Linked DNA regions of Homo sapiens: all the other regions are linked to region 3. The links are contacts of gene promoters, found by promoter capture Hi-C in blood cells and fetal thymus (Javierre and others, 2016). All regions are on one chromosome and are shown on one strand. The core of a region is centred on a gene start or on the middle of the fragment in contact, and the rest is flanking DNA. Distances in the headings are between cores, read along the strand shown. Region 1 overlaps GUCY2C (guanylate cyclase 2C). Region 2 overlaps PLBD1-AS1 (PLBD1 antisense RNA 1). Region 3 holds the start of PDE6H (phosphodiesterase 6H). Region 4 overlaps ATF7IP (activating transcription factor 7 interacting protein). Region 5 overlaps PLBD1-AS1 (PLBD1 antisense RNA 1). Region 6 overlaps GUCY2C (guanylate cyclase 2C). Region 7 overlaps GUCY2C (guanylate cyclase 2C).

Region 1 (4,030 bases), core at 1,015-3,514, 350 kb after region 3:
TGAGGGCACCACTGACTGCTGACATGATAAACACCAAACATGTACGAAAACAAGAAGCTTTGGACTCCTATTTAAATCACCATACCTATGATTTCATTTATTTCCTCCCCATTCCCTTTCTCCCCACCCCCAACTTCAATATATTTTCCCACTAAAATATTATAGTATCTTAAGTGGATTAGATTATCTACAAGGGGAAATAAAGAACAGATGGTGAAATTTCTATAATATTTATACCCCCTCCCTTCCCTGCCACTGCAGTTATACAGAAAGTACATGAGTCACTTTCAAAGACCATGAAAGTTACATAGCCTTGTTAAAAGAAAAGCTTATGCATATTAAATTTAACACAGTTTGATTGAGCAAAGAATAATTTTCAAATCAGATGGCCCTTAAAACCAGAAGAGGTTCAGAGAGCTTCAATGGGCAAGGTGGGCGGGCAATGTTTATAGACAGAAAACAGAAGTGAGGGACAGAAACAACTTGATTGGTCAAACCTCTGTGTTCCCCTGATTTGGTCAAAGTCCCATCAGTTGACAGCCTGTGACTGGCTGAAGCTCAGCTACTGCGATTGGCTGAGACTCAGCTATCTATAACGTAAGTATACCCTAGTTAGGCTTTTAGTTTGTTTATGTACCAAGCTAGGTTGCAGTTTGTTTTGTAGGGACCCCTAAGAGGCAGCCTCAGGCCAAACTTAGTTTAATTCAACAGCCTTGAACATCAAGGTTTGAGATGAGTTACAGGTGTTATAGAAAAAACACCTGTAAGAGAGGAACTCAGAAGTCATCTAGATGAATCTTTAGCCAGGCATTGCTTAAAACTCAGCTTTGCAGTTTTTGAGTTAATCTTTAACTTCTGAAACTGTTAACACCTTGCACTCAGTCATTCTATGCAAATACATGACTGAATAACCCTTATTTCCTACCTAATATGCCACAGCGCATAGTCTAGCCTGGGCTTTTGTTCTGCTTGTTGGAACCTCCTTGTGCCACAGGCTTCCCCATCCAGCTGCATTCGCCTGGTCCATGAAATGCTTACGGAAAGTTATGCCTTTGTCTTGTCTTCTGTCTTCCATTGTCATGGCACCAATCCCAGAAATGCCACCTTAAAATAAAAATAAAACAAACTTGAGCCATTGAAGCTTCAAATCTACAGTGCCCTCCAGCAGTGTGAAATTCAGGGTTGTGTGGTTTGGCACAGTAAGCAAGCAGTGGGGCTCATCTTCATCCTTCCTGAGAGCCTTCTATTTAAAATCACCTTTGTGATCTGGATCTCTGAATGCCTTCCTATTTGCTACAAATGTCGTTTTCTTTGCGAGAGCAAAATACTTTATGATCGCATGCATTGAATAATGATGCTTCATTGGATTCATCCATTTAAACCAAAAGTCCCAGCTCACATTTCACATCCTCAGCTACTTCTCCATGACAGGAAGTATTCAGGATTGTGACCATACAGAGAGGCTTACCTGTCTTCACTCTACTCTGCAATTTCTATTGCCTCCACTTCCTGCTTTCTGTCCTTCATTTCAGGTCCCTGTGCTGCTGGAGTTGTGGGAATCAAGATGCCTCGTTATTGTCTATTTGGAGATACGGTCAACACAGCCTCTAGGATGGAATCCACTGGCCTCCGTAAGAAGGGAGACTGTTTTTCTCAGAGGACAAAGATGCTGTTTTCCAGCAGAGGGCAACTGTGAGATAAAATGCACAATAAGGAGATACAAAGTGCCAGTGAGATGTAGAATAATTCTTCACATTAGCTGAACACAAACCCGTGTCAATCCACCTTTTGCTACATTTGCTTTCATTGTTGTTTACTGATAATTATTTTATTCTTCCACTTTTGCTCAGTTTTAGACTATTTCTATATTTTTGGCTCATATACAATGAATCTGGGGATATTCTACTTAGAATAGTCCTGGCATTTACCATAGATTCATGAAAGTTAAAAAAAAATCAGTAGGCAAGGTAAGAACTACACACTCTGGTTCACATTCCTGTTTCCCTCTTATTTGGTTTTGCTTTTTTGTTGTTGTTTTTTAGAGACAGGCTCTCGTTCTGTCACCCAGGCTGGAGTGCAGTGACACGATCATAGCTCCCTGTAAACTTGAACTCCTGGGCTCAAGTGATCCTCCCACCTCATCCTCCCAAGTACCTGGGACTACAGGAACATACCAGCACATCCAGATAATTTTTAAATTTTTAATAGAGACTGGGTCTCACTATGTTGCCCAGGCTGGTCTCAAACTCCTGACCTCAAGGAGTCCTTCCACCTTGGCCTCCCAAAGCATATTCGTTTTTTCTGGAAATTGATTTTTGTTTATTTGTTTGAGATGGGGTCTCACTCTGTCGCCTAGGCTTTGGCACAGTGGCACAATCACAGCTCACTGCATCCTTGAACTCCTCAGCTCTAGTGATCCTCCCACCTCAGCCTCCTAAGTAGCTGGGACTACAGGCATGCCACCATGCACAGCTAATTTTTTAATTTTTTCTGTAGAGGTGTGGTCTCTCTATGTTGTCTAGGCTGGTCACAGATTCCTGGGCTCAAGCAAGTCTCCTGCCTTGGTCCCCCAAAGCCCCAAAGTGTTGGAATTACAGGCAAGAGCCATCATACCCAACCAAGAATTGATTTTAGTAAAGAAAAATCTAAGCATTTGTTATATACGAAGGAATATATTGCATTTGCTTGGCAAGGTAGAGGCACAATGTGCTGCATGAAGTAGATGCTCAATAAATATTGATGACAGTGGTAGCAGTAGAAATATATAGAAGAGAGAAAATAAGCACTGGGAGACATGGCTGGGGCTTACGAAACCACAGGAGGCAGGATGGTATTTTGGTAGTGTACTGACAATGTGATACTAGTTTGTCCTGGCAAATCATGCTGGCAAGGAAAAGGATAAGGTTGGGGTCAGACAGACTTGGGTTACAATTGAAATTATGTTAATCATTCTCAGTATAAGTTGAGTAGAAAGCTACCTGATCCTTCTAGCCCTCAGAAAGATAAAGATACAAATTGAAAATGGAATACCAACCGTGCCAAGAGGGTTTCTGAAATAATTTGGGATGATGTCATGTTAAGCGTTTAGCAATCATGGTACATGGTAGGTATACAATTTGGGATTGTCATTATTCTTACTGTGTAATTGTTTGTGGTATTGCTATTAGGCCCCTATATTGGGAAAGGTGATACACATCAATGGACTTGTGAATGGGCGTGCCCTCACCACTTCTTTTGTCAAAGGATAACAATGTTCCAGAAGAAGGAAATTTGAGAAAATCAAGACCCCTCAACTCTCCCGAATCTTCACCTTGCCCACAAGGCTTTAGCTATTTATTGGAACTTTTCCACAGGGACCCAAAACCAAACTCCAACACCCAAGCTTGGCACTACAAGCCAAATCTAAAACTAGGTCCCGCAGGCTACTACTCTGAGCTGGAATGAGAATCTATGGAGAAAAACCTAGGGATCCCCATCACATCACGCAGGGCCCTGAAAACTGATGCCAGGCCTTCTTTCTTCCCACGTGAGATTATATTTCTTGTGTGAGGGCATTCTTGCATTGCTATAAAGAAAAACCTGAGACTGGGTTATTTATAAGAAAAGAGGTTTAATTGGCTCATGGTTCTGCAGGCTGTAAGGGAAGAATAGCACCTGCATCTGCTTCTGGGGAGGCCTCAGGAAGCTTTCACTCATGGCAGAAGACAAAGCAGGAGCAGGCACTTCATACAGCAAAAGCAGGAGTAAGAAAGAGAGTGGCAGGGGCAGGTGCCACACCTTTTTAAATGACCAGATCTTGTGACAACTCAGTATCGCAAAGACAGCACCAAGCCATGAGGGATCCACCCCTGTGACCCAGACACCTGGTCGGGGGCCAGGACTCCAGCACTGGGGATTAAAATTCAACATGAGATTTGGGTGGGGACAAATATCCAAACTATACCATTTCTTATCTCTCTGATGTTATTTTTAAGTGTTCTTTCATTAAAATAGCCACAATTGTTTCTTCTTGATTTAGGATTCTTGTCTC
Region 2 (3,911 bases), core at 992-3,491, 370 kb after region 3:
AGAAATGCAAACAATTTAATAACAAAAAATTAATAATTTAATTTTAAAATAGGCAAAAAGACCTCAGTAGACATTTCTTGAAAAACATAAAACAGAAATGGCCCATGGGTATATAAAAAAGTTCAATATCATTAATCATCAGATAAATGCAAAGCAAAATTACAATGAGATATCATCTCACCCCAGTTGAAATGGCTTTTATTCAAAAGACAGGCAATAACAAATGTTAATGAGGATGTAGAGAAAGAGGAACACTTGTACACTGTTGGTGAGAATGCAAATTAGTACAGACACTATAAAGAACATTATGATGATTTCTCTAAAAACTAAAAATAGGACTACCATATGACTCAGCAATCCCACTGCTGGGTATATATCCAAGAGAAAGAAGATCAGGATATTGAAGGGATATCTGCATTCCCATGTTTATTGCAGCACTCTTCACAATAACCAAAACATGGAATTAACTTACGTGATTACCAATGGATGACTAGCTAAAGAAAACGTGCTGTATATATATAATGAAATGTCATTCAACCATAAAAAGGATGAAATACTGTCATTTGCTGTAAGATGAATGGAACTGGATGACATTATGGGTAAGTGAAATAAGCCAGGTGCAGAAAGACAAATATTGTGTATTCTTACTCATGTGTGGGAGTTAAAATAAAAATCGATTTCATGGAGGTAGTAAATATAACGGTGTTTACCAAAGGCTGGAAAGGGTAGTGGAAAAGGGGGGGGTGAAGAGGGATTGGTTAATGTATAAAAATATAGTTAGATAGAAGGAATAAGATTTAGTGTTTGGCAGCACAATAGAGTGCCTATGGCTAACAATAGTTTATTGTATATTTCAGAGCTAGAAGAGAAGATTTGGGATGTTCCCAACACAAAGAAATGATAAATGTTTGAGGTAATGGGTATCCCAATTACCCATATGTGATTATTACACATTGTGTGCAAATATCTAAATGTCATATGTAATACATAAACATGTACAACTATTATGTATCCATAGAAAATAATAAAAAACAAAATTAAATGTTAAAAAGCCAATATAGATGATTCCTTAAATACAATTCCCTAAGAGAAACCAGACCCCAAAGACTATATATTGCATGATTTCATTTAAATGACTTTTTGGGAAAGGAAAAATTCTAGAAATGGAAACTAGGTCAGTGATTTCTAGGAATTGTCAGCTGGAAGAATTTGATTACAAATTCTAGGAATTGTGAGCTGGAAGAAGTCCAGGTTCCATGGCTCATGCCTGTAATCCCAGCACTTTGGGAGGCTGAGGCAGGCAGATTGCTTGAGCTCAGGAGTTCAAGACCAGCCTGGGCAACATGGTGACACCCCGTCTCTACCAAAAATACAGAAAAAAATAGCCGAGTGTGGTGGTGTGTGCCCATGTTCCCAGCTACTTGGGAGGCTGAGGTGGGAGGATCATTTGATCCTGGAGAGCAGAGATTGCAGCAAGCCCAGATTGTGCCACTGCAACACAGTCTGGGTGACAGAAAGAGAACCTGTCTCAAAAAAAAAAAAAAAAAAAAAAGAAGAAGAAGAAGAAGAGAAGAAGAATAAGAAAAAAGATAGAACAAATGAATTTTGGAGGTAATGTAATTGTCTCATATGGTACTGTGATGGTAAACACATGACCATGCATCTCTCAAAATTTCAGAACTGTATACCACAAAGGAAGACTTTCACTGCAAGCAATTCTTTATAAAGCAATCAGATGTGGATGGAACCCAATATGGAATGTAGAATGTGAAAAATAAATCTAACTTTATTATACAGAATGGCATACCCTCATTGAAGAGGGTGGTAAAGAAAGGAGCTGACATAAGATACTTTGGAAAACAGCATTTTTAGTGGATTCTGTAAGGCTAAAAAAAGCACTGTACAAAACATTGTAGTCTAATTGATAAATTTGTTTTTCAGAAGAGGGTAAGTTAGAATTGAAACCACTTTAAATGTAGACTAGGTCAATTAGATAAATATATTTTAGATATGAGCAACAGGTTTCTCACTGTCAGAGAAAAAATTTATAAATAAACAAAAAAGGAATGCCAGAATTAACCTTGAAGAGCTGGATTGGATCAGTAGTAACACTATGAATCTTGTGGATTTTTAATAGATAGCTAGAGAAATAAATGTATATGTGAGTATATACTAACTCACTGAGAAGATCTAGAATTAGTGATACCCCCAACAGCAATGAACACAACTAGTGTCCAGATTGCGGTTTCTAAATACCTTTTTTTTTTTTTTTTTTTTTTTTTTTAATATATAGGGTCTTGCTCTGTCATCCAGGCTGTGGAGTGCAGTATTGCAATCATGGCTCACTGCAGCCACAACTTCCCAGGCTCAAGCAATCCTTCTACCTCAGCCTCCTGAGTAGCTAGCATGTAGACCATGCCCAGTTTTGTTGTTGTTGTTATTTACTTTTTGTAGAGATGGGGGCCTCACTATTTTGCCCAGGCTGGTCTCAAATTCCTGGCCTCAAACAATCCTCCTGCCTCAGCCTTCCAAAGTGCTGGGATTATAGGCATGAGCCACAACACCCAGCCCCTAGCTATTATTCTTAAAAAGAACCAGGACTCCTTAGGCAAGTGATTGATTTCAAGGCTGTGACAGGAAAAATACAAAATAAGACTGGATCATCTCACATTGCCAGAAAGTAATGAGGTGCAAAAAAACCACCAAAAAACAAAAAATGGAGGCTTGTCAAAATGTCATGGAAGTCAATTTTAAAAAGCTCCGAATGACTAAAGCTGAAACAAAAATAATGAAATAAAGTATTGAATTATAACCTAAAGAATAAAGTAAATATCTGTGACTCCACACAGATATAAATAAATGATTAACCATAAATAACTGATAGAGAAGAGACAACTCCACCTTACAGAAAAATCATATTAATAAGTAGAAAAATGAAGAAAATTTAAAAATAAATATTAGAACACTACTGTAATCATTGCTACTGGCAAGGTCCACTAATTAATGCTAATATTTGTGAGTAAAAGTTTAAGAAGAAAGAGGATATTTGCATAATTTCAAAGTGCCTTCCTTCAAATATTTATTGTTACATAGAAAACATAGTAATTTAAAGTGGAGAAGCCTTCAGATACCACAATAACCAGATAATTAAGGTTAATTTCACAAGGAATGACATATTAACATCATGTTATGCACTGGGAGGGTTCTAATACCTCTGTAATATTCTTCCTTAAAATGAATAACCTCGGGAGAAAGAAAGATGGCTGACTAGACATAGCCAGGGGGAACAGCTGCTACTGAGAGACCGAGACAACTGGTACACTCCTAACAGATCTTCAGAGGGAAAGCACTGAGAGTGGATGGAGGGAAGATACAGAAGCTGGACTGAAGCAGGAAGAACCTGGGAATCCTGCATGGGGCTACCATGAACTGGGATTTGTTTCTGGCCCCCAGTGACTCCAGGGGAATGGGTGAGTTGAACTGTCAAGGAGCAAGGGTTCTGAACCAGGCTGAGATGGCTGAAATGACAGAAATAGAATTCAGAATATGGGACATTTGTGGTGGCTCATGCCTGTAATCCCAGCACTCTGGGAGTCTGAGGTGGGTGGATCACCTGAGGCCAGGAGTTTGAGACTAGCCTGGCCAACATGGTGAAACCCCATCTCTACTAAAAATACAAAAATTAGCTGGGCATGGTGGTACATGCCTGTCATCCCAGCTGCTCAAGAGGCTGAGGTGGGAGGATCACTTGAACCTGGGAGGCAGAAGTTGCAGTGAGCCAAGATCGTGCCACTGCACTCCAGCCTGAGCAACAGAGTGAGATTCTGCCTCAAAAAAAAAAAAAAAAAAAAAGAAGAAAAAAAATCAGAAAGTGGAAAGGAATAAAGATCATGGAGATGCAGGAGTACGTT
Region 3 (3,540 bases), core at 741-3,240:
ATCCTCTGTGGGTCTTATTCCATCTATAAAATGAATCAAACAAGACCTTCCTTTTAGAGTTATGGGGAAATTTTAGGAAGACAATATAAGTAGAGTGGTACAAAGTGTTCAAAAAGGGCAAATATATGCTAGACCTTCTGAGAGAAAAGAAAGCCATGCAAACAAATCTGTGGTTATGACACTTGTTCACCTGGACTCTGCACCTCCTTCCTCTGGGCCAACTGCTGAAGGGCCCTTGCCATACACCAGAGGGGCAATTATCATCTGCCCTCGCTGGGTAATTCTCTGCTTCCTTCAAACACCCCGACTGTTAACTTATTTCTGGTCTTAAAATTCTGTCTTAAGAAGCTTTCCTTGAATTCCTTTGACACCCCAACAGCAACCCCGAAGAATTTAAAAATCACACGTGACATCCATATTCCCCAATGATACATCCCCTTTTTTCTTGCAAGTTTCTTTTGCATTTTTACATAATTTTGAAGTTACACCTCTAGGCTTAGAAAGTGTTCATGTCTGAGTATGATGCATTATATGAAAGAAGCCTCCTCAGAAAGAGTTACATAACAGTTGCCAGGTTAATCCCTTGATCCTAATGGTGCTCAGGATTTGCACTAGGTAACCGGAACAGTCGACTAATCCCTATGCAGTTTCTGTCATAGATTTACCCTCCAATTCTCTCTGCAAAACCTTTAGGAAGGGTAGAACACCTCTGACCTTTTCCTGCATTGGAAGCCAGTCCTGTTGTCCATAAACATCACCAAAGGCTAACCTCATGCTGACCACACCTTTCTAGAAATTCTAAGGGCATCTGGAGCTGAGTAACCTTAAATGTATTATCAGACTTGATTTTAGCTGAAAGAAGTTTCATATTTTTTCCTCCAAAAGCATTAGGCAATTTATTCTTTTGTGAGCCAGAACATTTTCCTGTATTTAAAGCAATGTTAGCCCTTCCCCTTTTGAAGATTACAAACTGTTTTTCTGCAGAAATAAGTGGATGCAGCAAAGTAATATTTCAAGGCATACTTTTTTAGGGGACTGGGATTAGGGTCAACTTAACAAAGTTAAAGATTTGTATAAAGCAAAAAATCATCTTCTGTTTCTTTATACAGCAAAGCCCAGCTCTATATAGTGACAGAGGATGATCCTCTGAAAAGCAGTTTTAGGAGGTTCCTGAGACAGCTCTCTGATGCTGCTGTTATCACCTTACACTTCCAGTTCTCTTTTTCTCAGCAAAGCTATAGACAGGTAGACCAGTCCATTGTTGGTGGACAAAGAAAGAGGCAGGAAGGAGCTGGGAAGGGAAGTACTGCTGGGGTTGAGCCCATAAATATCACCCAGGGTCCTGCTGAGGCAGAGAAAATCAATAATTTGAAAAGCAAAGCAAGACCCAAACCAAAGCCATAAAAAAAAAATTACCAAAATTCCAGCCAGCACCCTGCTTCAGAATGGAACAAACACTTGACCTCAAAGGGAGAAGGCTCAGCCACCTGCCCTGCCCTGTGGTCATTCTCATGCTCTCAGCTCCCCTTCTCCTTTTCCTCACACTCACACCATCCTGGGCCAAGTTTGCAGGCACATCCTGGGAGTAAAGAACTGTTTTCTCTGTGGTTATTTAGTGCCACAGATTCCTCCTTCTTCAGAAAACTGTTTACTATGAAGCTGCAAACAGGGAGGTCACTATTGGGCTCCTTCTAAATGAATTCAGTAATCAAGTTTTGCAGTGACCTTGTAATAATCAAGTTTCACTTATTTGCTTGTCCCATGGCATAACAAGAAGGTCTGCATGTATCTCCTTCATGTTCTTTCCCATTTTCATCCCCAGCCACAGCCCAGGCCCACAGGTCCAACATGTTTTCTTCTGCAATTTTTCTTTTGGAACCTGATCAACCCCCCAAAGCCCTTCAATTATCCTGCTCAAATTCACCAGAAGTTCAGAAGTACTCACGGAGCTGAATGTTGTTCCTATCAGCTGCCCAGCTGCCTTCTTTGCAAAAGACAAAAGGATCTTTGCATCCTGACTTATCTCTCTGTAATACCCTCATGCTGCCTAATCTCACCGTCATAAGCTCAGAACAGCAACCCAGGTGCAAAGAAGTTAGGAGAACATGGGTTGATGCTGGGACAGGCTTAGGAGTTTTCCAATAATTAGAGGCCCTTTCAAAACTGACTTGGGTTCATTCCAGTCAATAAATAGGTATTGTATTCACAAAAACACAAAAAGTGTTGATATCCAAGGGTAAATTTCAGTTTGTGATTCAATATCTTCTGTCTTTTTTTTATTCTTACCTTTAGATTTCAATACCCCCATTTCTTCCCTTTCTCTGACAAACACACACCTATGTGCGCAATCACACACACACATATACACAGTGACATAATTCTTATGGGGCTCTAGATAACTGGAGAGAAGAGAGGGAGCCACAGTGCCTCCTGCTATACAGGGACATTGAACATGCGGGCAGTGACATTGGGAAACACACAGTATGTCTCCCTAACTGGTATTGTGCGAATTTCCTCAGAGAGATGGAACCTCAGAGTCAAAACTGATATCTGACACAGAAAGGGCCCAAATGACAGCTAGGAATTGTTAACTGAGGACACTTATTTGAGAATCGATTGCTGGATCTTCCGTACCTAAATGTTTCAGGGTGTAGGGTCTAGGGTACAATCCAATTTACTGAGACTCCTTGACTCAGTCTTCCTATTTTATTGATCCACTAGTATTAATTATTAATAGATTAATACTTTTTGTATTTTAAATAGATCTCAACCCATATGGTAGTTATCAGTAAGCTCTTTTGATAAATTTATCATAGAAAGATTAAGTGACCTATTCAAGACTGCAAATAAAATTAATAGTGGAGCCAGGAACAGGGCCCAAATCTGGAAGTACCTTGCATATTCAATTGTCTTTGTGCTGCACTACATCAAAGCAGACAGAGACCAAGATGTCTGTTTGCTGGTCACTTCCATGCCTTGCCAGTGAATTTCAATGTTCTTTCCCCAGTTGTTACCTATTAGAAAATTACACTCCATAACATTACAGAGAAAGAAGGTCAATTTATCCTTTCTAGACAGGGAGAGGTTCTTAACCTGCAGCCCTAAGCAGATTACATGAGCAACTAGACAGCTTGAGAGTCATTCATATGCTCTCCACTGGTCTTTACCAAAATTCCTCTGAGTTTTGAAAGCAATGATTACCTTGCAAAGCCAGGAAAGTGTTTGGTCTCTGGATGAGTCCCTCTGCTCCCTCCTCTGTATCTCCATTACCATTCACATCTTCCTTTACTATTACATACCAGGCACGTTAATGTTCAGATGCTTATCTGTCAAACTTTTACATATTCTCCATTTTCTTGATGAAAGAATACAAATTTTAAGGACAGTGGAAAGTGCCAAAAGCTGAGTGAATGTTCTAGAATGTTGTTACTCAAAGTGCAGCAGCAGCAACACCATCTGTGCACTTGTTAAAAATGCAGGATTTCAGCCCTGCTCCATACTTACCGAATCAGAATCTGCTTTTTAACAAGGTCCAAGGTG
Region 4 (3,723 bases), core at 288-2,787, 480 kb after region 3:
AATTTTAAAAGAGGAAAATATAAAGGCTCCAAGGTTTAACTGCTCTGGGTAGAAGAGATCACATCTGTTGACTGAGGATCACAGAAAGGCCCAAAACGTCCATAAATATCCTTGGCTCGTACTGCAAAGTAGTATTTGCTACCAGATACAAACTGGGTGAGAGTACATGCCATGGGCAAGGGAAGTGCCTTGACTTCCCCAATCTTTTTCCATTGTGAGGGCACAGTGGCACTGGGTTCCTCATGGTAAGCATAGAGATGGTAGCTATCAACAGTGGCACAGCTTCGATCCACCTCCAGGACACTCCATGACAGTACTATGCCATTTTGACTCTGAACGCGTGCTAACTTCAAGTGTGGCTTCTGAGGCAGAGATGTGCTGGCAGCTTCTGGGGGCAGACGCTGTGGTTGTGGAGCTTCTGGTAAGGGTGCTGGGTGCACGGGGCGTGGGGGCTCCTGAAGAAACAGGTCACACTGATTAATGATGATTGCAAAAAGAACTATTTTAGAATGTTAGAATTAAAACACCTTAGAGAACATACGTAGAAGTATCATTTTATATCAAGAATTCTAGGAAATACCAAATACCATATCAAATTTGGCAAGTTCTATTTGGGGTTTTGTAATGAATCATGCTACAAACAATGATGCTGAGGTTATTCCTACTATACTTCCTAGACCTAAAATATTTTGAGTTTTTCTTAGGAAATAAAAAGCCCCTGCTGACGGAACATCATTTTGAGGAACACGGAAGTAATGATCTATTTCTAACAAAATAATTTATGATTGAATTATCTATGTTACAGATTATCATTTCAGTATGATGTAACATTTTTAAATATCATGTATGGCAACCAAGATCATATAAAATTGGAGAATACAAATATACTTTCATTTTTAAGTTATTTATAAATAAGCACATTAACACTAAATGTGTACTATATTCTTGGCCAATTTACAAGAAAAAGGTGATATTTAAACTCAACTGTGAAGGAGGATCCAGAGATGCAGAAATAATCATGTACCTTTCAGCCAAAAATAAAGCATGAGCAAAGGCATGTGGACAGTAAAGTGAGGGGACGTATGGACAAGAACAAGTATTAACTTTTTCTTGGACATAGGGTACATGAAGAAAAATCTGGAAAGGTAGGTTAAGGCCAGATGATGAAAAAACATGACTCTAACTTTAGGAAGTCCTATTGACTTTTCTAACACTGGAACATCATCATCATTATAATGATATTTCATACCAGTCAAACACTGACAAAATTGTGTCACAGGATAATGTGACATTGTTTTGGAGGCTAAATCTAAGGAGAAATCTTTGGTTATCTCTGTTACCTCTTAACTAATGAATTCCCAATATCATTGGATTCTTTAGAACAATTAATTGATGACAATGTAGCAGTTAGATGTGGCATAGTTTAGAACGAAAGAATAAAATTAACACATGGAGAAATGAAAAATGTCCTTTTTAATTTAACTATGAATTAGAAATGGTCTATATTTCACTTCATATACCCCAACTGTGGACCTGTTTTTGTACACTGTACACCACAAGCAAACTCAATGATTCTAAATGATCATCATCCCTAGGAACTATGTGTTCATAATGGTAAGATCAATTTTTAGAAATAAACTTCTGAAAAAGCAGGAAGACCTAACACTTCCCTTGGATATAACCATTTTAAAGAAAAATGCCAAATACAATAATATTTTATACCTCTACAGTTGAGAATTTTGCAAAACCAAGCATCAACACTTACAGTATGCACTTGTGGTGGTCGGTGATGCACTGTGAGCTGAGGTCCTGTTGATCCCAGGGTTAGTCCATTGTTTACAACATATGTGGTTGTTTGAGGCACTCGAACTGTAACACCTACAAACAAACAAAAAAATTACAGGATAAAATGATAATTCTATTGTAAATTTGGTGGAAAACTGATTAAATATTTGAAGGCAGTGAAGCAATGTTTTCAAGATTCGAAAGGAAAGATATTTCTAACCTAGAGGTCCTGTTCGTATTCAGCCAAGCTATCAATCAGCCTGTGGATAAAAAAACTTTCTTACATGCAAGCACTAAAAAAAAATTCTAACTACCACAAACCCTTTCTCAAATAGTCAATGGAGAATATGTGCCACCAGTACGTGAGAAAATAAAGAGAAAAACACGAGACACAAGCAACAGGAGGTCCAGCACAGGGAGAAATAAATGGATCGTTACCAGGAGAACTATGAACAAAAATCCTAGAACACTGGTTGTGTACCACATGTAAAAGGTAAATGGCCATAATGGAGCAGTGTGACTCAAAAGACAGACAAACTGGGAGTATCTTCATAAAAATCTCTGCAGTCTCATCTTTTCAACCAGGACAGAAAGCCAGAATAAGTCATCCTTGCCATGTATTAATGAGGTTCCTCTCATTTTCTCCATGCCCAGCTCCTTGGTTGAGGATACTCACTTCACCCCACAGAAAACTGCTGTGACATACACCAGGGAAACAAAAAGAGAAAATTTAGAGCCACCTACTGCCCTAACTATATTCCTGCCATTTATTCAGTACCTGGCCCATGCTGTAGTTCGGCCTGGTTCCTGGACTATAGTGAGCCAAGTTTCCCAGAACTCATTTCTAACCTTGTTGATTAATTTTCCCAGACAACGCTCTTGTAAACTTGAGAGAGTTGAAGCCAAGCTATGATCCAGGGACTCCAATCAGTTTATTTTCTAAATGATAGCATTACTGTGTTTCTTTAAATAGCTATATTTTCCCTTGCTGTCACATTTTGCAAAACTACAACATATGTGTGATGGTTAATACTGAGTGTCAACTTGATTAGATTGAAGGACACAAAGTATTAACCCTGGGTGGGCCTGTGAGGATGTTGCCAAAAGAGATTAACATTTGAGTCAGTGGACTGGGGAAGGCAGATCCACCCTTCATCTGGTGGGCACAATCTAATCAGCTGCCAGAAAATATAAAGCAGGCAGAAAAACGTGAAAAGGAGAGACAGGCTTAGCCTTAGCCTCCCAGCCTACATCTTTTTCCTGTGCTGGATGCTTCCTGCCCTGGAACATTGGCCTCCAAGTTCTTCAGTTTTGGGACTCAGACTGGCTTCCTTGCTCCTCAGCTTGCAGACAGCCTACTGTGGGATCTTTTTTTTTTTTTTTTTTTTTTTGAGACAGAGTCTGGCTCTGTTGCCCAGGCTGGAGTGCAGTGGCATGATCTCGGCTCACTGCAACCTCCGCCTCCTGGGCTCAAGAGATTCTCCTGCCTCAGCCTCCCAAGTAGGTGAGATTACAGGCTTGTGCCACCACACCCAGCCAATTTTTGTATTTTTGGTAGGGATGAGGTTTCACGATGTTGGCCAGGCTCATCTCGAACTCCTGACCTCAAGTGATCTGCCTGCCTTGGCCTCCCATACTGCTGGGATTACAGGCGTGAGCTACCATGCCCAGTCTATTGTGGGAACTTCTGATTATGTAAATTAATACTTAATAAACTCCCCTTTATATATATAAACATTCACTATATATAAAGTATTTTACATATATTTAATATTTATATATAATTAAGATATACTGTATATATATAGTAGGATATAAAGTATATATACAATTAGTTTATATGTAGTATATATTTTATGTATATACCCTATTAGTTTAATACATATATAATATATAAAATATATATATCCTATTAGTTTATATATAGTATATATTATA
Region 5 (3,964 bases), core at 1,137-3,636, 400 kb after region 3:
CTCCCAAGTAGCTGGGACTACAGGTGCTCACCACCACGCCCGGCTAATTTTTGTATTTTTAGTAGAGACAGGGTTTCATCATATTGGCCAGGCTGGTCTCAATCTCCTGACTGAGTGATCCACCCACCTTGGTCTCCCAAAGTGCTGAGATTATAGGCGTGAGCCACCACACCCGGTTTACTCTACATATTTTTCTTTTGAGAAATTCTTATTTAACCTAGTAAATCTTTCACAGCTATATTTATTCCAAAAGGCAAAGGCTTATTGCTTAAGGGAGGAAAAAACAAAAATATCAGAAGACCAAAGGGTAAACTCTGTGGCTTTCTGAGACCTTGTGTGTACAGAGACAATAGTCTTCAAAGCCATGAAAACATAAGATCTATGAATCTGAAAGAGAAAAATGTTTTGAAATATCAAAACTTGGAAAATGGAAAAACAGACTGAAACAGAAGAGCATATGATATACTAAAGAACAATAAATTAGAATAACAATATATGTTAATGTTGAATTCGTTCCTGCCCACAGAAGTAAAAAGTTTGAAGAGCTGATGAGATAAATACATAATGGGTCGATGTGAAGGGTCTAGGACTGTCCTCCTCGTTAGCGGGGGAGTCATCTGTTTGATGGGTGAGGCAGAGTGTGGAAATGTTTGCTAATAGAAACTCAAAGTAGGTCTCTAATTACCAGAGCAGACATGTTTAAACTTTCCAGAACATACCCATAAAATTGCAAGCCTTGAATAGGACCCATATAATCCCACATGGCACCTGAGTTGTAAAGTAGCAATAACTGAGGGAGATGTTTGGGGAGATGAACCCAATGGCTGGCTCATTAATTGATGCACACTAGATCAGACTAGCTTTCAGGCCCTATTGCCACTCCCGCAGGGCTCAGAGGGGTTTGAGAATGAGCCAAACGACCCAAGAGTATCCAAGTCAGGATGAAGAGGTTGCCAAGTGTGTCAGAAACAGCTGGCTGCCTACCAGAAATGCGCGCTCTTACTTCCATACCGAGCAATGACATCCCAGGTAGAGGCTGCATTTCCCAGTCTTGTTAGCATAAAGATAGGGCAATATGTCTAGCTCTGCCAATGGAAGGTAAGCAGAAGTTATTAAGAAGCAGGGGTGCAGCCAAGCATGATGGCTCATGCCTGTAATCCCAGCACTTTGAGAGGCCGAGGTGGGTGGATCACCTGAGGTCAGGAGTTCTAGACCAGCCTGGCCAACATGAGAAAACCTGATCTCTACTAAAAACAAAAATTAGCCAGGCATCGTGGTGCATACCTGTAGTCCCAGCTACCCAGCTACTAGGGAGGCTGAGGCAGGAGAATCGCTTGAACCCGGGAATCGGAGATTGCAGTGAGCCGAGATAGGACCACTGCATTCCAGCCTGGGCGACAGAGTGAGACTCCATCTCAAAATATATATATATATATAAATAAAAACAAAAAAAGAAGAAGCAGGGGTGAGGGGTGCTTTTCTCTTCCCATCGCCAGAAGACAAGACTCCATAGCATTATGGTTCCCGCACACAGTTTGGCAACCACAGTGAATGCACAGAGTGTACCTGAGAATATAGTAAATACTCATGGGAAACAGTAGTAGCACAATACACTATAATCAATCAACGGAGCTCTCTGGGATACTTTAAATGTTTGAGGGACATGTAGCACCATCTGTAGGATACTGAGCAAATGACTACTATTGCATTGTGTGGCTCTAACTACTTAGTAAAAAGAACTGTTAGGTATTTCTTTTGGTCTGCAGCCCTAAAAATATATTACTGACACTCTACGGGCACTATAAACCAAGAAAGCATGGGAACTTCTGCCTTAGAGAATGACAGAGCCACAAGATGAAAGATAGGTGGGTTCTTAAATTTCTACATGGAGGAAAGCCACTTACTGATTAAGAACTCCCACACTGGACTGGCATACAAGACACCAATAAACTTTTGTTGCATTAATCCAATGAACTTTTGGAGTTTATCTGTCATCATAGCTAGCATTACATTAACTAATACACAGAGTATCTGGAAATCTAAATCCGAGGTCAAGGTAAAGCTGCAGATACCAACAGCAGATGCCTATGCACTACAATTCCTGCAGACCGAATGAGAAAAAAAGCTATATCTTAGTGGAGGCCACTAAGCCAAGAGTATGACTCACAGAGTAAATGTCCCTTATTTAGTACCAAGTCAATACATAAGCCCCCGAAGCTAAGGTCATCCTTAAGGAAAAATGGTAAGGACATAAAGAAGGCAAAGGACACTAAGGATTTGGTCCAAATGAAATTGCGCAACCTTAAATCTGGTATTTAAAAATTTTTACTGGTTGGACTCACACCTGTAATCCCAGCATTTTTGAAGGCCAAGGTGGGAGGATCACTTGAGCCCAGGAATTTGAGACCAGCCTGAGCAACATAGTGAGATCCTGTCTTACAAAAAATTAAAAAAAAAAAAAAATTACCATCAGTGGATGTGTTTGAATGCTAAGTTAATTACACTTTTTTGGAAAAGAAACAAATTTACATTTTGGATATTTCATTCTGGAACTGTAACTGTAAAATTTTCAATCCACCACATACATGTTACAGCAAGGAAAGAAATATAGAGGCCAATAGAGACCACTATCTTTGTTTCTGCAACTGGTCACCTGGCTATAGATAATTATATGTGACTTCTCTTCTCCACCTTTTTTCCATGTTCCCCTTGCTTTGGGCCAGCAACTCAGCTGCTGGGATTCTTTGCCCATTGGGATGAGGAGTCTGAGTCCCCAGTGGTGCTTCCCAGGTGAGATTATGCTCCCAGTCCTTTCATTTTGTTTTGGTTTTGGTTTTTTGAGATGGAATCTCTCTCTGTCATCCAGGCTGGAGTGCAGTGGTGCGATCTCAGCTCACTGCAACCTCTGCCTCCTGGGTTCAACTGATTCTCCTGCATCAGCCTCTCAAGTAGCTGGGATTACAGTCATGAGCCACTATGCCCAGCTAATTTTTGGTATTTTTAGTAGAGACGAGGTTTCACCATGTTGGCCAGGCTAGTCTCGAATTCCTGATCTCAAGTGATCCACCCAACTCGGCCTCCTGAAGTGCTGGGATTACAGGAGTGAGCCACCGCATCCAATGCTCCTACTCCTTTTGATAGTAAGGCAAAATTACCAATACTACAATCCTATTCTTAACCATTCAAACATATTTTTATGTTTTAAGAGGAGCTCAAAAAAGACCAATTGCAATTCAGTAATGCACTTTCAAATTCCAATTCAATAATACTTCCTTATTGTGTCTCCTGGTAGAAACACCTCCACCCTTGGCTCACCAAAAGTTGGCATTCCTGCACCAAAAGTTGGTACAGGAAGAGAATAATGGACGCTGAGTAGCCCCAAACCACACAAGTCCATTATAGAAGTGATGAGAACATTTCGCAGCTGGCATCTTTGGTTCTCCTCATTGCAGCTTTAGTATGTGAATCCAAAAAATCTGAGACAGGTCTCAGTCAATTTAGAAAGTTTATTTTGCCAAAGTTAAGGACACACCAGGGCCACAGCCTCAGGAGGTCCTGACAACATGTGCCTAACGTGGTCGGGGTACAGCTTACTTTTATACATTTTAGGGAGATATGAGACATCAGTCAATACGTGTAAGATGTACATTGGTTCAGTATGGTAAGGCGAGACAACTCAAAGTGGGGTATTCCATGTTAGAAGTAGAAAAGAGACAAAATGTTACATTCTTTTGAATCCTTGATCAGCCTTCCACAGAATACACAACTTAGTCTGGCCCAGGGAGTCTGCATTTTTACATAAACAATACTGCAGAGGAAGCAATCAGATGTGCATTTGTCTCAGGTGAGCCTCAGAGGGATGACTTTTAAGTTCTGTCTTCCCTTTGTCCACAGGGAATTTCCTTGTGGGCAAACTGTGAGGGAGGTATGTAGCTTCTTATCTTTGTAGCTATCTTATTTCAGA
Region 6 (3,905 bases), core at 501-3,000, 340 kb after region 3:
CGGGGTTTCACCATGTTGCCCAGGCTTGTCTCGAACTCCTGAGCTCAGGCAATCCACCGTCCTTGGCCTCCCAAAGTGCTAGGATTACAGGTGTGAGTCACCGCACCCAGCCTGTATGTTAATTTTATATCCTTCAACTGTACTGAATTTATCATATCTAAGAGCTTTTTGGTGAAGCTTTAGGTTTTCTAGACGTAAGATCATATCATCTGCAAAGAGGGACAATTTGACTCCCTGTTTTCCAATTTGGATGCCTTTTATTTTTCTTGCCTAATTGCTCTGGCTAGTACTTTCAGTACTATGTTGAATAGGAGAGGTGAAATTGGGCATCCTTGTCTAGTTCCAGTTCTTAGAGGGAAAGCTTTCAGCTTTTCCTCATTCTGTGTGATATTGGCAGGTTTGTAGTATATGGCTTTTATTATTTTGTGGGTGTGTGATATATGGCTGGCCTTTATTATGTTGAGATATATTCCTTCTATGGCTAGTTTTTTGAGAGTTTTTATCAAGAAGAGATGTTGAATATTATCAAATGCTTTTTCTGCATCGATTGAGATGATCATATGGCTTTTGTTCTTCATTCTGTTGACGTAATGTATCATGTTTATTGATTTGCATATGTTAAATCATCCTTGCTTCCTGGGGATAAATCCCACTTGATCATGGCGTATTATCTTTTTGATGTACTGTTAGATTCAGTTTGCTAGTATTTTTTTTCTTGGAGGATTTTTGCATCTATGTTCCTCAGGGATATTGACCCATAGTTTTCCTTTTTTGTTGTATCCTTGTCTGGTTTTGGTATGAGGGTACTGCTGGCCTTGTAGAATGAAGGAGAATTCCCTATTCAATTTTTTTGAATAGTTTGAAGAGAATTAGTGTTAGTTCTTCTTTGGAAGTTTGGCATAATTCAGCAGTAAAGTCATCCAGTTCTGGACTTTTCTTTGTTGGGAGACTAGTGATTCAGTCTCATTACTCATTGTTGGTCTGTTCATGTATTCTATGGTATTCTATTTTTTTCTGATTCAATCTATGTAGATTGCATTTATCCAGGAATTTCTCCACTTCCTCTATATTTTTCAGTTTGCTGGTATATAGTTGTTCATAATAGTCTCTGATAATCTTTCACATTTTTGTGCAATTGGTTTTTATGTCTTTTTCTAATTTCTGATTTTGTTTATTTGGATCTTCTCTCATTTTTTTCTTGGTTAGTCTAGCTAATGGTTTATTGACTTTGTTTACCTTTTCATAAAAACAACTTTTTATTTCAATGATCCTTTGTATTATTTTTTCAACCTCTATTTTGTCTAGTTCTACTCTGACCTTTATTATTTCTTTCCCTCTACGAACTTTGGGTTTGGTTTATTCTTGCTTTTCTAATTCCTTGAGGTGCCTTGTTAGATTTGAATTTTTTCTGATTTTTTGATGCAGGCATTTATTCCTATAAACTACTCTCTTAGCAGTACTTTCGCTGTATCCCATAAGTTGTGGTATGCTGTGTTTAAATTTTCATTTGTTTTAATTTTTTATAATTTCTCCTAATTTCTTTATCGACTCAATGGTTATTCAGAAGCATGTTGTTTAGTTTTTATGTATTTGTGTAGTTTCCAAAGTTCCTCCTGGTATTGAGTTCTACTTTTATTCCATTGTGGCCTGAGAAGATATTTGATATAATTCTGGTTCTTTATAAATATGTTGAGACTGGTTTTGTGTCGTAACATATGGTCTATCCTGGAGAATGTTCCATGTGCTGATCACAGGAATGTTTATTCTTTAGCTATTGAATGAAATGTTCTGTAAATGTTAGGTTCACTTGTTCTAACGTGCAGTTTAAATCCAATGTTTCTTGGTTAATTTTCTGTCTTTATGATCTGTTTAATGCTGAGAGTGGAGTGTTGAAGTCCCCAACTATTATTAGATTGGAATCTACTTCTTCCTTTAGATCTAATAGTATTTGCTTTAAATGTCTGTATGCTTCAATGTTGGGTGTGTATATGTTTAGAATTGTTATATCCTCTTGCTGAATTGAGTCCTTTATCATTATATAATGACCTATGACCTTTGTCTCTTTTTACAGTTTTTTACTTAAAGTCTGTTTTACCTAATATAAGTATAGCTACTCTTGCTTGCTTTTGGTTTTCATTTGCATGGAATATCTTTCCATCCCTTTACTTTCAGTCTACATATTTCTTTACAGATAAGATGAGTTTCTTGTAGGCAGCCTACAGTTGGGTCATTTTTAAAAATCCATTGAACCAGTCTATATCTTTTAAGTGAAAAATTTTGATCCATTTACATTCAAAGTTATTATTATGTAAGGGCTTATTCCTTTCATTTGATTAATTGATTTCTGGTTGTTTATACATCCTTTGTTCCTTTCTTTCCCTTGTTTTTCATTATGGTTTGTGGTTTTCTGCAGTGGTAACCTTTGAGACCCTTCTCTTCCCTCTTTGTGTGATTGCTTTACTAGTGGGTTTCATACTTTCATGTGTTTTCATGGTGGTAGATGACATCCTTTCACTTCCAGGCGTAGGACGCCCTGAAGCATTTCTTGTAGGGGAGGTCTAGGGGTGATGAATTTCCCTAGCATTCACTTGCCTGGGACAGCCTTTATTTCTTCTTCATTTATGAAAGATAAGTTTGCTGGATATAGTATCCTTAACTGGAATTTGGTTTTTCTTTCAGCACTTTGACTACCTCATCCCTTTTCTCCTGGCCTGTAATGTTTCTGCTGAGAAATTCACTGTTAATCTGATGGGGGTTTCCTTATAAGTAACCAGATGCTTTTTTCTTGCTATTTTTAGAATTTTCTCTTTAACTTTTGACAATTTGACTATAATGTGCCACGGAGAAGATCTTTTTTAATTATATGTATTTGGGGATCTCTGAGTTTCCTGTATCTGAATGTCTAAATCTCTTGCTATTATTTTGTTAAATGGGTTTTGTATTCCTTTTGTTTTCTCTTCGCCTTTTGGGACACCAAAAATTTTAAGTATTTAGCCACTTTATGGTGTCTATATCATGTAGGCTTTGCTCATTCATTTTTGTTCTTTTTTCTTTATTTTTGTCTTATTGGATTATTTCAAAAGACCTGTCTTCAAGTTCTGAAATTCTTCTGCTTGATCTAGCATATTGTTGAAGCTTTCCAATATATCTTGTGTTTTATTGAATGACTTCTTCAGTTCCAGAGTTTGTTTTATTCTTTTTTATGGTATCTATTTCTTTGGTAAATTTCTCATTCATATCCTGAATTTTTTTTATTTCTTTGTATTATTTTTCTGTATTCTCCCATATCTCACTGAGCTCCTTTAATATTATTTTTAATTATTTTTCCAGAATTTTATTAATTTCCTTTTCATTGGAAATTGTTGCTGCAGAACTACTGTGTTTCTTTGGAGGTATCATATTTCCTTGCTTTTTCATGCTTCTTGTGTCTTTATGTTGATATCTGTGCATCTGGTGTAACAATTACTTCTTCCAAATTTTAACATTTGCTTTCATAGGGGAGGACTTTTTTCCTGAAGATGTATCTATAGTATTGGTTGGGTGAGGCACTTTGGCTTTGATTCTGGGTGCATGCAGTAGTGTAGTCTCTACATAATTTACTCATCTGTGAGTGGGTCTGTTATTTCCCTAATGGGTTAGGATGTCATTGTTAGTGGAGGCAGTAGTGACGTTTTGTTGAAGACTGGAATGCCAGGTGGGCTGGTCCTCAGGGCCCCTTGGAGGCACTGGTGCCAGCATAAGCTGTCCTTGGGCCCCAGGACAGCTTATCTGGTACCAGCGTTAGTGGGTCTAGGCAGATCAATTCTTTGGCCTCCAAGTAACTTCCTCAGGTGCCAGCAGTAGCAGCAGTGGCCTAGGCTGGTGGGTGGATTCCCGGGTTCCTGGGCAGCAGGCATGGCATGAGT
Region 7 (3,618 bases), core at 346-2,845, 280 kb after region 3:
GTGCTGAAGAGTTATGTTTATGTGGCTACATATATCAGTATTGATTGTATTGAAAACTAAACTGAGAAACATTTTAAACATTTTTTATAAATTCATCAAAAAAAATAAATATCTGTTAGCATAAATAATATTTTTATTAAAGAAAACCTATATTTCTCAAGCCAAAAAAGAAAAAAAACAAAGCGAGTGAGAAGACTGGTTTACACTTTTGCAAATGTCTTTAATGTCAAGCTTAATGGAAGATAGCTATATTCTCATATTGGCTTCTACATTCAATCTGTTGCAAGAATATATGTGATATAGCCTCTGGAGAACTTATCATATGCTCATGAGAGAAGGAGAGTAGAAAAAAATAAGGAATGTCTTAGTATAATTATAAAAATGACTTTGACCTCATGGATCCCCTGAAAGGGACTAAAGGGTACCTCAGTGGCTCATACTTTGAGAACTGCTGTTCTACAGCATATCAAAGTTCTAGAATTAGACTTCCCTAGGTTCAAATCCCTGCGCTACTACTTGCAAGCTGTGTAGCCTTAAACAAGTTAATCTACCTCTCCAGACCTCCATTTTCTCATGTTTAAATGAGGATGACAAAATATTACCTTGAAGGATTCAGAGAGGATTAAGTGAAATAATACCTGTAAAAAATCACAGCCCAAAGCTAGGCATATAGTGAAAGAGATCAACTGGCTCTATTCTATTAACAAGTGGATGAGGAACTGGGGCCCAGTAGGGAAGTCACTTGTCTGAGGTCACACTCAACAGATGTTGGTTCCCTTTTTCCCAGGCACTGTGCCAGGGTTTCTACTTGAGTTTAGCTGTATCAGTCATGGGCTGCCAGGAGCACTGGATTTTTAAGTGTCATTTTCACTGTCCCTCATGGTGGTAGGACAGAACAAAGCCCTCATAGAGGCAGGAGGTCAAGAGAGAGGAGCTGCAAGTGTGGCCATCTTCATGTGACTGTGTGCTACCCTCCACGTCACTTTCTGACTCCTCTTGCAGTGTTCCAAGACCCTCTCTAACCCTATTTTCTACAGTTCCTCACATGCCCTCTCTCATTCCCCCAGGTCCACTGTAGCCTCATTCATTCTGTTCTCCTGGTTTCAAATTCTCTATATCCTTTCTATTGTCATGAAAATTAAATAAAAGGCATATGGGGCTTAGTACTGAAGCTGACTCGCGGTTACACTCAATTAAGTGTGAACTGCTATTAAACCCATCACTCCCCACTTCTCTTCCATTAGATATCTCTGACTGGTCTAATTACATTGAAGTCTCCTATTTGGCTAGTCCTACCAAAGTACTGACATCTCTCAATCAGCTATCTTACTGAATAAAGTATCAGTGTTTTCGAACTTAAAAAAGCAAAGTTGGTAGACATCTCTCAAGTGGCTGTAGAAGTGCAAAGACTCCTCCATTCTTTGAAAGAACAAGTCTCTACCTTTAAAAACATTCTTATTTGTTCAGAAGAACAACTTCTATTATAGACATGCTTTGCTCTTTTAAAGGTGCTATTAAAAATTATCCCATTTTACAAACTTGGTTTTAACCTCATTTTACATGCGAGAAACTAAGTGAGAGAAATTAAAATGGCTTGTACAAGAACACATAAGAAATCACTCATAATGCCGGACTGTGGACTGAGGTTTCCAGACTCCCTCTAGACTTGGCAAACTTAAGAACATCCCTGCAGCTGGGCACAGTGGCTCACGCCTGTAATCCCAGCACTTTGGGAGGCCGAGGCGGGCGGATCATGAGGTCAGGAGATCGAGACCATCCTGGCTAACACGATGAAACCCTGTCTCTACTAAAACTACAAAAAATTAGCCGGGTGTGGTGGTGGGCACCTGTAGTCCCAGCTACTCAGGAGGCTGAGGCAGGAGAATGGCATGAACATGGGAGGTGGAGCTTGCAGTAAGCAGAGATCGCGCCACTGCACTCCAGCCAGAGCAACAGTGCAGACTCTGTCTCAAAGAAGAAAAAGAAAAAGAAAAAAAAAGAACATCCCTGCTTAGGAATCAGACATTTGTCCTGATTATTTTTTACTGGAAGGAACCAAAATTTAATAGATTGTGGTCAAATGGTTCTGCTATTCCCTTCTAAAACGTGGTGCCTAGCAGTCCCCAGGGATATCGCCAGCAAGACCCTTGCTTTCATCTAAATATGGGAGTTCTCCATTATACAAAGACCTCAAGCCAGGATGAACATAATTCACTTTGGCTTTGGGAGTAGCCCATAGAGGAAATGCCTAACACCAGGAGTGGTGTTCTGGTCAGTAAGGCCAGCCATCCTTGTGACCAAACAGATATTTTGAAGAGAAACTTGTTTTCAATTCTTGTATTGCTTTCTAAGAGGAGAAATGTGTGAGTCAGAGTGAAATCCAAACAAAACTCTCATCTAATTTAGGACACTAATGAACACATTTTTGTTTTCTTTATCCTTGATTAGAAACATTTTAAAGTAAGAGGATGTATTTTAAAGACAAAGGGGTTTTCTGGCAATTTTGTAATGTTACACAATCTCCTTCCCTGTCTACTAAGAAAGAAAACAGAATTCTGCAGCACCTTCTTTAGGAAAAATAGATGATAATTAACTGTTAACCATTTTCATTTCATGTGAGAAGTGTGGGTACAGCTGCAGGGAACTTCCTGAGGGTATGCAGGTATTTTTCTCATAGACTATTTACTCAGTATCTTGAATGCTCCAGGAGAGACAGGGTCTAAAAATTGTAATACAGCAAGATTCATTGAGAACAAACAATCATACCCATTGATAAATTTTGGATTTAACATTTTGGTGCATCACTAAGCTGGTAAAAGGCCATTCCCTCATGCGTGAGTTTTCATTTGAGATATCAAAAATGTACAATTGGTTTGGGATGAGATAATCACGGCTTCCATTTCAGATCCCACTATTTACTGCATATGGGACTCTGGTAAGACAAACTCAATAAAGCTTTTGTCTCAGGCTTTGATTTCTAGAAAACTGACCAAGACACCCCTTTTGAGCAAGAATGATAAATCTGAGCCACAGATGTGACAGCTTTTTATCAATAAGAATGATTGCATTAATAACTATTTCTGATGGGTGTATTTCAACTGCTTAGTGTCCTCTCTATCTAGAAGTGTGACAGGCATCTCACACCTGACATGTCCACCTCCATCACCACACACACCACATTAGCAAACCTGCTCCACCCACACTCTTTCTCATCTTGGTCAATAGGAGTTCCCTTCACCCACTTGCTCAGGCCAAAAATATTGGCGTTATTCTGAGTCCTCTTTTCTCATACTTCATATTGCATTTATCAATTTCCTACCTTCAAAATACATCCTAAATGCAACCATTTTTCTCTACTTTTGCTCCAACTACTGTAGTCCAATCTAACCTAGGTTATGAATCGTGTCTTCACTAGTCTCCCTGCATTTGTTTCTGTTCCCCACAATCTATTCTCTGCATCAGGATCCAGAGATATCCTTTAAAAATAATAGTCAGACAATATCATTTCTCTGCTCAAAGTCCTCCAAAACATCTTATCCTGGAATAAATTGAAAGCACTTACTAACGTCCACATGGTCATGCACGGTGTGGCCTCACTCTGACCTCACATCTCACCCA

The links. The method cuts DNA at HindIII sites, captures the fragments that hold promoters and counts their contacts. A CHiCAGO score of 5 or more calls a contact.
Region 1: a contact is called between a fragment that was not itself captured here and the fragment with the promoter of PDE6H in region 3, in 1 of 17 cell types (neutrophils). The highest score is 7.7, in neutrophils.
Region 2: a fragment that was not itself captured here is called in contact with the fragment with the promoter of PDE6H in region 3 in 1 of 17 cell types (neutrophils); the score reaches 6.9 in neutrophils.
Region 4: a contact is called between a fragment that was not itself captured here and the fragment with the promoter of PDE6H in region 3, in 1 of 17 cell types (neutrophils). The highest score is 7.8, in neutrophils.
Region 5: a contact is called between a fragment that was not itself captured here and the fragment with the promoter of PDE6H in region 3, in 1 of 17 cell types (neutrophils). The highest score is 13.2, in neutrophils.
Region 6: a fragment that was not itself captured here is called in contact with the fragment with the promoter of PDE6H in region 3 in 1 of 17 cell types (neutrophils); the score reaches 8.5 in neutrophils.
Region 7: a contact is called between a fragment that was not itself captured here and the fragment with the promoter of PDE6H in region 3, in 1 of 17 cell types (neutrophils). The highest score is 5.5, in neutrophils.

Annotation. Positions count from the first base shown.
Region 1 is chr12:14,616,812-14,620,841 of GRCh38, reverse strand. It overlaps GUCY2C (guanylate cyclase 2C), which reads left to right. Exons shown (of 27, transcript NM_004963.4): 24 at 1,533-1,631. PLBD1-AS1 (PLBD1 antisense RNA 1) reads right to left here. Exons shown (of 6, transcript NR_120465.1): 5 at 1,469-1,690; 6 at 1,087-1,104. Among named protein-coding and RNA genes, the nearest start is that of GUCY2C-AS1, 47 kb to the left of the region's middle. The HindIII fragment of the contact is 2,241 bases long and covers 1,144-3,384 here.
Region 2 is chr12:14,598,658-14,602,568 of GRCh38, reverse strand. All of the region lies in intron 2 of PLBD1-AS1 (PLBD1 antisense RNA 1), which reads right to left. Among named protein-coding and RNA genes, the nearest start is that of PLBD1, 33 kb to the right of the region's middle. The HindIII fragment of the contact is 4,698 bases long and covers 1-3,911 here.
Region 3 is chr12:14,971,492-14,975,031 of GRCh38, reverse strand. PDE6H (phosphodiesterase 6H) reads right to left here and starts at 1,990. Exons shown (of 4, transcript NM_006205.3): 1 at 1,946-1,990. The HindIII fragment of the contact is 3,244 bases long and covers 351-3,540 here.
Region 4 is chr12:14,494,386-14,498,108 of GRCh38, reverse strand. It overlaps ATF7IP (activating transcription factor 7 interacting protein), which reads right to left. Exons shown (of 15, transcript NM_018179.5): 14 at 1,766-1,878; 15 at 1-455. The coding sequence ends at 36. Among named protein-coding and RNA genes, the nearest start is that of PLBD1-AS2, 34 kb to the left of the region's middle. The HindIII fragment of the contact is 5,948 bases long and covers 1-3,723 here.
Region 5 is chr12:14,570,310-14,574,273 of GRCh38, reverse strand. All of the region lies in intron 2 of PLBD1-AS1 (PLBD1 antisense RNA 1), which reads right to left. Among named protein-coding and RNA genes, the nearest start is that of PLBD1, 4.4 kb to the right of the region's middle. The HindIII fragment of the contact is 5,629 bases long and covers 1-3,964 here.
Region 6 is chr12:14,633,014-14,636,918 of GRCh38, reverse strand. The region is part of intron 19 of GUCY2C (guanylate cyclase 2C); the gene reads left to right. Among named protein-coding and RNA genes, the nearest start is that of GUCY2C-AS1, 31 kb to the left of the region's middle. The HindIII fragment of the contact is 2,774 bases long and covers 364-3,137 here.
Region 7 is chr12:14,688,914-14,692,531 of GRCh38, reverse strand. The region is part of intron 1 of GUCY2C (guanylate cyclase 2C); the gene reads left to right. The region is part of intron 4 of GUCY2C-AS1 (GUCY2C antisense RNA 1); the gene reads right to left. Among named protein-coding and RNA genes, the nearest start is that of GUCY2C, 5.9 kb to the left of the region's middle. The HindIII fragment of the contact is 2,724 bases long and covers 234-2,957 here.